Linked DNA regions of Homo sapiens: region 1 is linked to region 2. The links are contacts of gene promoters, found by promoter capture Hi-C in human tissues and cell types (Jung and others, 2019). All regions are on one chromosome and are shown on one strand. Each heading gives the region's core, a stretch centred on a gene start or on the middle of the fragment in contact. The rest is flanking DNA. Distances are from core to core; before and after follow the strand shown.

Region 1 (4,319 bases), core at 214-2,713, 100 kb after region 2:
TTGTTCTGTCTAACAGGTAAAGTTCTAACCTCCAAGTCATACAAACCCTGTTGCTCTTTTAAGCAGGGCTGATGGCAAATTCTGTGAACCCAATTCTACATCTTTTAAGTAAGAAGCATATAAGCCATACTGTTTAAAAATGTATATGAAGCCTGTATGTGTCATTCATAAAACTAAATAATTAAGAAAGTTGTGCCTTTTTGGAGTGGTACAAATTTGGTAAGTTCCTAATAATTATGTGATAACCCCACTAAAATATAAGCCCTGTTCTATAAGAGATGGATTTTTGTCTATTTTGTTCACTTTTCCCTGATGCATAGGAAGTTCTTACTACATATTTATTGAATGTATGACTCCTAAGTGGGTATATCCAGGTTCTTCTAGTAGTTCTTGTCTATAAAATACAATGAAAGTACAATATCATGATTCTTAACAGTGTAAAAAATAGAATTACTGAAATTGGGAATCTAGGATTCTTGCAACCTTATTAGTGTTATTCTTTTCCTTTCTTCAGGTGACTTGATGGAGGGTGAGCTCTATTCTGCTCTCAAGGAAGAAGAAGCATCCGAATCGGTTTCTAGTACCAATTTCAGTGGTGAAATGCACTTCTATGAGCTTGTGGAAGACACAAAAGATGGCATCTGGCTGGTTCAGGTATGAAAAGCAGTAATAATTTGATAATTCGAGAGCCCTAAAAAAATTATTTTTACCAAAATAGTATGTACCAGCCAGTGACACTTCCGTGTCCTTGTGTCTTGTTTCTCACACATAACTCAGTTCTCTTAGGGAGGCTCCAGTATCTTCTTAAAAAGGTTTTGGAGACTGAGGAAGATGAAAATTGAGTAGTGGGAAAGAGAAAGATGGGGGATGGGGGTCAACTTTTTGTTTAGAATCCCCAGAAGCAAATCTATTTTAGTTATTGGACCTTTGTTGAATTGAGAAATACACATATATATCCCTTTTATTTAGTGATTTGCACTGTTTCTCTTAGTTTTTATTATCTCCAGTTTTTAATTCAGTGGCCTGAGTAATTTTTATATATAAGTAAGAACCCTAAAGTAAAAGTAAAGGAATCATTGTATTAGGGAAATAGCCAACTTTGTGACTATAGAGGAGCTGTTGTGGAAAATGGTGGGGGTGCTCATTACGTAACTCAGGATGATGAGATTATAATTTTTAACCCTTGTTTTTATGATAGCAAAACTGTGAGACTTAATTAGCATATTAGAATTTTAGAGCTATGATGGACCTTAAAAATATTTTATGCTTTCCAAGATGTAATTTATGGTGAGTGGGCATGCATTATCATTTACATATTTTAATGTAAATTAGAAAAATTATATTAACATAAATTTCATAAATTTTGCTTAGGACAGGACTAAAGTTATTTACATTTTAAAACTGTACATTCAAAGTGACATATCAAGTAAATTAACAGCGTGAATGTGGCTAAAATTATTAATGTAGTCTGTGAATGGCTGAAGCTTGGAAATTATATCAGACTAACCCTTTCTGAGACTCTGAGAGGTGAAGTAGCTTGCCCAAGGTCATGGAACTAGTTGGTAGTATTGAACCAGGATGAAACCCAGGTCTTCTGATTTCTTGACTGGTACTCTTATCATTTCACACTGGAGTGGGCAAAGTTTGATTCAGGGCATGAAAATTAAAACAGTTTCTTCATATTTCTTTCTGAGAGTAAAGACTGCAAAATATGGTAGGAAAAGCTATGAGTTCAGAGACATTAGTTGCAGGTCTGGTACTGTCGCTGTTACAGGTCTGGTACTGTCACTGACTAGCAGTATGATTGTAAATAGGTATATTTTTCTGTTGCACGTGGCCTCAAATAAATACATATACATCTAAAAAGGATAAAATGGTACTGTAGTCCACTGTGCTAAAGGGTTGAGGTTTGGGAATTCTTCCAGAGATTTACATTGTTCATCCATGGCCTTTCTTTATTGTATCCTTCCTATTGCATTTGTCCTTTTACCTTCCGGATAATCTAATTCAGTAATTTTTAAGTTCAGCAATGGGAGAGAATGTGAGAGTATGAGTGTAGTCTATACATTATCTATTTAAATTTTAGTTTATTTCTGTGTCAGTTGGAGTTGAAAAATAAGGTGGAGCTTTTTTAAAGCTTTAATGTATAAGTATATTGTTATTCTGTTTCTTTTCTCTGGTACTTATTTCTAATAGTCTGATTGAGAAAGACACTGGTTTTGATAATTTTAGATTTTATTACTGAGGATGAATTGAATAGCCAGTCCCACTGCCCTGCTTTCAGTGTCTAAATGTCACCCACATTGAATGATCCCATGGAAATAAATGGTGAAGATGTTGCACACCTTTGAAACTTGGAAGGGCTATGTCAAAAGTCTTGAGTTCTTTTGCTATATAGGCTGCTGCCTATAGACAACAAATACATTCTGGTTCAATAGTTAGCAGTATGTTCTTGGCTTGTAAATGATCTACTGTTTTTGATGTCCTGTTAAAGATATCCATGAATTAAGCTCCTGTAATAAATATGTGACAGAATTCATCAAAAGTTTATTCAGTTGTGGGTGTGCCAGGCCCTGTTCTGGGCCCTGAAGATATACCAGAAACACACACCAAGCTAAGGCCTTGCTCTGTCAGGCAGCTCACATTCTAGTTGGGAGAGGCAGACACCAAATAAATAAATATTTAATATAACATCAGTTAGTGGAAAGTAGTAAGAAGAAAAATAAGCAGATTAAGGAGATGAGAGTGGCAAGGAATTCTCTGGTAAGGTGACAAATGAAGTGAAGGACAAATAATGATAGTAAATGGTAGCATTATAAATTCTAGTTGCTAAATTTTTTTTCTCTGAAAATATTTTTAAACCTTATAGGTATTAATAGTTGAAAAACAACTCTTTAAAAATAGAATGTATTTCTGTGGTTTTTCTATGTATGGAAATAATGCAGTAGGACACCTGCTTAATTTTTCCAGTGATGCTCAAGGTTTGCATTGACCACCACTGTCTGGCTTGTGTTCCTTGAGGCCAGTGGCTTACATCTGTCAAATGGCTGGCCTGGTCTGAAAGAACAATCTCTGGCAGGACAACTGAGAAGAATGAGATTGAAACCCTGTCCTTGGCACTGTGAACTAGCCAGCTAAGCCAATCAGCACAGCCACCTTGGTTTAAGCCCTTAAAAGAGGGTTGTACTTTTTAAAACTATGCTTAAAATTGAAAATATCTACTAGAAACAGAAGAGAAATATTGTCTCCATTGCTTGCCATTCTTTCAGCTCAGATCATATATATTAATCTATTGTAAAGGATAACTTTCAAGAATTGTTTTTAACAATTTGAATTGTTGTTATTTTCTGTTTACAGTAGTCCCCCCTTATCTGAGGGGGATGCGTTCCAAGACCCCCAGTGGATGCCTGAAACCGTGGATAGTACCAAATCCTATATAGTCTATGTTTTTTCCTATACATACATACCTGTGATAAAGTTTAATGTGTAAGTTAGGCACAGTAACAACAACAACTAATAAAAATAGAACAATTATAACAGTATACTGAAATAACATTTATGTAAATGTGGTGTCTCTCTCTCCGAATATCTAATTGTATGTAGTATTTTCGGACTGCAGTTGACTGCAGAAAGTGAAACTGAGGGTAAGGGGAGACCACTGTATTTTAGAAGAAGCTGACTAATTTGTTCTCTGTCATTTGTTTTAAGTCTATGAGGAGTGTTTTCATAAATGAAGATGCACAGATGGCAGCCAGTTCAATCCTCTTCATATTTTTAAGCTTTTCCAGGTCCATGTTACGTATAGTCTCTGTAATGTGAACAGAATTTATTTTAGTTTTCAAGGTAGCAACATACATATGACATCTTTACCAATGACACACTATGAAATACATGTAGAACCAAGTGCTCTTTTTTCTAAGTTATTCCTAACATTGTTTTTCTCCTTTGTCCCTAACCCAAGCTCATATCTTTCATTAGCTATTCATTTAACAGTTTTGTGGATTCTTTGGCCCCAGTCTTCATAGCATTACAAATAGAAGATGGTTACTTTTCTTTCAAAAGACCCTTGGTCAGAGAGGCAGATGGCACAGTGGATAGGCTTCTGAAGTGGAGAAGTTAGCATAATTTATGGGTTTTATGGATTTATCCTCCTCCTAACATTTCTGTTTCTCCGTTTTGACTTTTGTCATAGTTCAAAGAAGGACATATTTGTTCCCTACTGGCTGTGTTACATCATATGGAATTTAAAGTCACTGGAATTGAGGTAGCAGTGAGAAGCATCATATGATTTAAAATAAAGCTTTGGGTCAATATTTACT
Region 2 (4,428 bases), core at 1,467-3,966:
CAAACTCACCAACTCAGACTGTTTTTAACAGCATAGCATACTGTGTGGCCAATACCCCTCAAACCATAAATTCTGAGAAAAGTTCCCTAGTACCCAGTGGAGAGTCAAAAACAAATTCCTGCCTCAGCAATTTCTCACCATCATTTTATCCATCTGAGCCTGGCCCTAAATTTTCTAAAACAAAGCTCACAATCACATCCCCCTTCAACTTACATCCTCTCTCATGGAAGAAAGGTACTTTCTGTTCCATCATTTTCCTCTCAAACTCTGCCTATGACCTGGTCCCTAAAAACGAAATGTTCCTTCCACCTCTCCAAGTCTAGGCCCTTCATTCTCTTCCTCCACTGGTTCCTTGGCAGGGCCGGGAGCACAGAGGGAATACCTCCCACCGCTGTACTGGATTTCCCACACCTCGGTTCACATCGAATTTTTCTTCTTAACCCCCAGTAATCTGGCTTGTCTTAGCAATTCTATGAAACTGCAAGCACAGAGGGTTACTGACTCCCAATAGCCAAATAAAAGCTGACCAATCTCTCCTTTTCTAAGTCCTCGCCCTTTTCGATTTCTGCTGGCTCTATCTAGCCTTGGCTCTCCACTCGCCAAGGAAAATTCAAGACTGTGGTTAGACTCTAGTCTTTCTTCTGTGCAATCTAAGTGATCCCCTCCACTGTCCTCCTAGAAATGACATCAGAAAACAATCTTAGACCTATGCATCTCCAGCCACCAGTAAATAGGAAAGCCCTCGATTCTATCTTCATTAAGCCCTTCAACCTTACTTCACATGTCCAAAACCAAATTCAAAGTCTTCCCAGGATTCCTGTCCCATTCCACCTTCACTTCCCTGTATCTACCAACTATATCATCATCGCCACGTCAGTCAAATTTCCCTTCACAGGCAGCCACCAAGGTCTGCTCGTTTTTCCATACTAGTATTGCAACTCCTATGAGAATTAATACGGTTTTTCCATATTAAAATCTCATCCACTATGACTGCAGGTTTGCTTCCTTCCTGGAGTTCAAAAATGACTGCAGTGTCCAGAATGAGAAGCTGCTGTAAGACTCCTTTCCCATGGACCAGCACCCATCCTCAACTGAAACGCAGTCTGGGAAAGTGTGAAAAAATGAAGGAGAAGGAGAGAGACACTCAGCTAACGCCACTGCCCTCATCTCACCTGCCACAAATAATCTGCATCTTCCCCCAGCTACCAAACCGTCCTTCACATAAATTTCTGTTCAGCCCACAAGCTGAAAAGCCCCCTCAGCCTCTTATTAAAGACCCATTAAATAAGTCCTTCACTTCTTGATCAAAAGGAATCATCGCTGTGACTTCTAAAGTGTAAGAAAACCAAACCTTTAAAAGTACCTGTCCTCAGGGCTTGGGGCAGTAAAAAAAAAAACAATCTAGGTGAAACACCTTCTATAGGAAAATTTATTTTTTTTGAACGAACTTAACCAGGCAAAGCAAGTAACTAGCAACATGTGCACAATTTACTTGGGCAAATGTCGCCCGTTCCTCCTCGGTGTCATCAGAAGGTACACTGGGAGAACAGAAGGGTTGAATTGAGCTGGTTTCCAAGGAACCATGTCAGAGCCGCTGCGGAGTTAAGAGCTGCGTCCACACAGCAGCCAAATCATGAAGTTGCAGGAGCGGCTGTTGTTAACCCACAGCTAAGAATAACGCTCGACTTTCCAAAATAAAACGAAGAAACGAAGTCCCCTGGCCAAGGATTCGGGGCGGCACAGAGGGGAAACGGAGCTTCCTGCACTGCCCTCATCACTCAGAACCTGGGGTCCCAGGCGATTCAGTCACCGCCCACAGAACAGCGCCGCGGGCACCACGTGAGACTCCCGGGGCCGGCTGGGAGCGGGGGACGAGGGGCGCCCACTCGGGGGTCGGCAGTTTGCAGGTGCGATGGGCGGCCCCCTCACCCACGTTTATCCGGACTGGAGCCCGCCGCTCCCGGCTGGGTTTCCGGGTGGTTCGCGCTCCTTCTGAATTGGCAGCGAGGTCGCGGCAGGTTCGAGGTAAATCGGACGAAGAGGGGAAAAAGTCTCAGGGGTCTGGGGGCCTCCGCGCCTCAGGGGAGGCAAGGGCCGGGCCAGAGGCGCGAGGGTGGGTGAGGGATTCCCGCCGCGGGGCCGGGACCGGGGCTCGGGCAGTGGGCCATGCCCCGCGCGCCCACGCGGGCCGCCCTACCGTGGCTCTGCAGGATCTCGTGCTTGAGGCCGCCGGTGTAGTCGATGAGCTCCTCCAGGCCGCGCTCGCACAGCTGCCCGTAGCCTGAGAACTTGTGCAGCACCTTCTCCAGCTCGCGCTCCACCGTCACGCACTGATCCATGCCGGAGGCGGCGGCGCTCGGCTCCTCGGCGCCCAGGTGTCCGCAGCCGTTCGGCCCGGGCCCCACCGAGGCCGCGTCCTGCTCCTCGTTCCCCAAGCGGGCGGCGCGGGAGGCTGAGGCGGCCGAGGCGGCGGGCGCACTAGCCGCGGCGCCGGGGGAGCCCCGCGCAGCCGGAGCCCGCCTGCCCCATGGCGCCCTAGCCCCCCGGCGAGTCGCCGCTGCTCCCGTTCGCTCGCTGCACTCGGCTCCGCGTCCCCAGGCCCCGCTCGCGACGTTCGGGTGCCTGCGACGGCGCGGCCGATTGTTTTTGTTTTCACGGGAACCGACCGATGACCTGGTTCTCCCGGGCGGCACCAAGCGCCGCCGACTGGGGGGAGGGGGATGGCCACCCGGGCGAGGAAAGGAGGCGGCGCGGGCCGTACCAAGTACACCCTCGGGGTGGGGGGTGCGACCCGGCGAGAACGGGCGGAGGAACGCGACGGGCGCCCACACGCGCCGCCACTCTAATGGTGTGGGCCGTACCACACGGAAGGCGTGCGAGGGAGAGGGCGAGGGTGGAGCGAGGCCCCAATTGGCCTGAGGAGCTAAATAGGGAACTTTGGAGACAGCCCCAGCGCTCGGAGAGCGCAACAACTACGCGCTCCATAAACAAGGAGGCGGAAACCGGCCCTCACCACTCCGCCCAGAAGCGGGGAACCCCAACCAATGGGCGCGGGGAGTGGTAAGAAGCCAATCCCTGGCCGAGGCGTAAGCCTTCAGCCAATCCGGGCTGAGGGGCCAAACCAACGGGCTCGCTGTTGGAGGGGGTGACTTGGAGAGCGTACCGAGAAACGAGTAGTTTATGGAAAGCCTTGGGGGAAAACTAGACAAAAATACAAAAGGCTGTTTTCCATAGGACGTCGCCCTGATCCCAATTTATTTCGTCTCCTCATCGATCTTAAGGGAAAGGGGTACCGTCATTCCGAACTTTTGGGCGACGGATCCATCTCCCGGGAATGAAAAACCAAGCCAGGCCGCCCGGGGGCTGGTTCTGCGTCGGCGGGGGGTCCCTAATGGGAATTAAAGGCGGGGGTGATTGGGCCCGGGTGAGGGGAGCCGCTTGCTGCTCGCGAAAGGCCCGCGCCGGCTGTCAGCGCTGCCCCGGGCTTGCGACACCCAGGAGGTCATGTCCCCATCCCCCGCGGACCGTGGCCCTTTGGCCCCTTGGCCTGGAACCTCTCCTGACGGTGGCCTCGCCCCAGAGCCATGTGCCGGGCAGCTTAGCCGGGTGGAAAGAACACGCGCTGGAGAGCCGGGCAGCCTGGCCCTTGCTCCCTAGGAAGCCTTATGCTATCGGATCGGATCGGCTTTACCCCCTCGGGTAAATCCTTCCCATCGCTTGCTATGGCGTCTGCAGCCTTGGCCTAGACCTCCTTGATCAGCATCGGCTGCACTACCTTTGCATTTCTTCAGGAGCCCAGCTAGTTCGTGCCTCAGGGCCTCTGCACTTGCCCTTTCCTTGGCCCAGAAAACTCTTCCTCCTACCTTTTTCATCCTGAAGTTCTTCTCAGCTCACTTGTCCCCTTACAGGGTCCTCCCCTGGCTGACCACACTAATGTACTTCCTCCCCACCGTTAATACCATAACACATTTTATTATTTCCACACCACTTAAACTCTGAAATGATCTGATGTTTTATTTTTCTGTCTGCACCACTTACATAAAACCATGACGGCAGGCCCCCTGCTTGTCTAAATTTTTTGCCTAGAACAGCCCCTGGCGTGAGGTGGTAGGCAATTCTTTTTCTTAAATTAACGTGATAACGTTTTTGAGCCTTAACTTCCGTATAACTGAGAAATAATTGGAATTAATACTTAACTAAATTGTTAGATAAAGGAGAATATATGTAAATACCCATAATAGGCTCATGATAACCACATGATAAAGGTGGTAGTAGTCATTATTAGGGCAGCCCCAACTGGTATTATTTCAGATCTCCCTTCTCCCCACCCCATTTTTCTTCCCTCTTGGCAGATGTCTCTGATTCTTCACTGAGATTAAAAAAAAAAAAAAAATCTAGCTCCAGCAACTTCTATCACTCTTCTCCAAG

The links. Contacts are between HindIII fragments. The study calls those that stand out against the background at their distance.
Region 1: a fragment that was not itself captured here is called in contact with the fragment with the promoter of RMND5A in region 2 in 2 of the 25 tissues and cell types used here (dorsolateral prefrontal cortex and hippocampus).

What each region holds. Positions count from the first base shown.
Region 1 is chr2:86,616,665-86,620,983 of GRCh38, reverse strand. RNF103-CHMP3 (RNF103-CHMP3 readthrough) reads left to right here. Exons shown (of 8, transcript NM_001198954.1): 3 at 515-654. The coding sequence starts at 523. RNF103 (ring finger protein 103) reads left to right here. Exons shown (of 4, transcript NM_005667.4): 2 at 515-654. CHMP3-AS1 (CHMP3 and RNF103 antisense RNA 1) reads right to left here. Exons shown (of 6, transcript NR_183901.1): 6 at 3,535-3,808. Among named protein-coding and RNA genes, the nearest start is that of RNF103, 5.0 kb to the left of the region's middle. RefSeq lists a silencer at 3,643-3,692. The HindIII fragment of the contact is 6,359 bases long and covers 1-4,319 here.
Region 2 is chr2:86,718,579-86,723,006 of GRCh38, reverse strand. RMND5A (required for meiotic nuclear division 5 homolog A) reads right to left here and starts at 2,716. Exons shown (of 9, transcript NM_022780.4): 1 at 2,198-2,716. The coding sequence starts at 2,339. RNF103-CHMP3 (RNF103-CHMP3 readthrough) reads left to right here and starts at 1,885. Exons shown (of 8, transcript NM_001198954.1): 1 at 1,885-2,025. RefSeq lists silencers at 2,100-2,159, 2,638-2,796, 2,680-2,869 and an enhancer at 2,990-3,523. The HindIII fragment of the contact is 16,881 bases long and covers 1-4,428 here.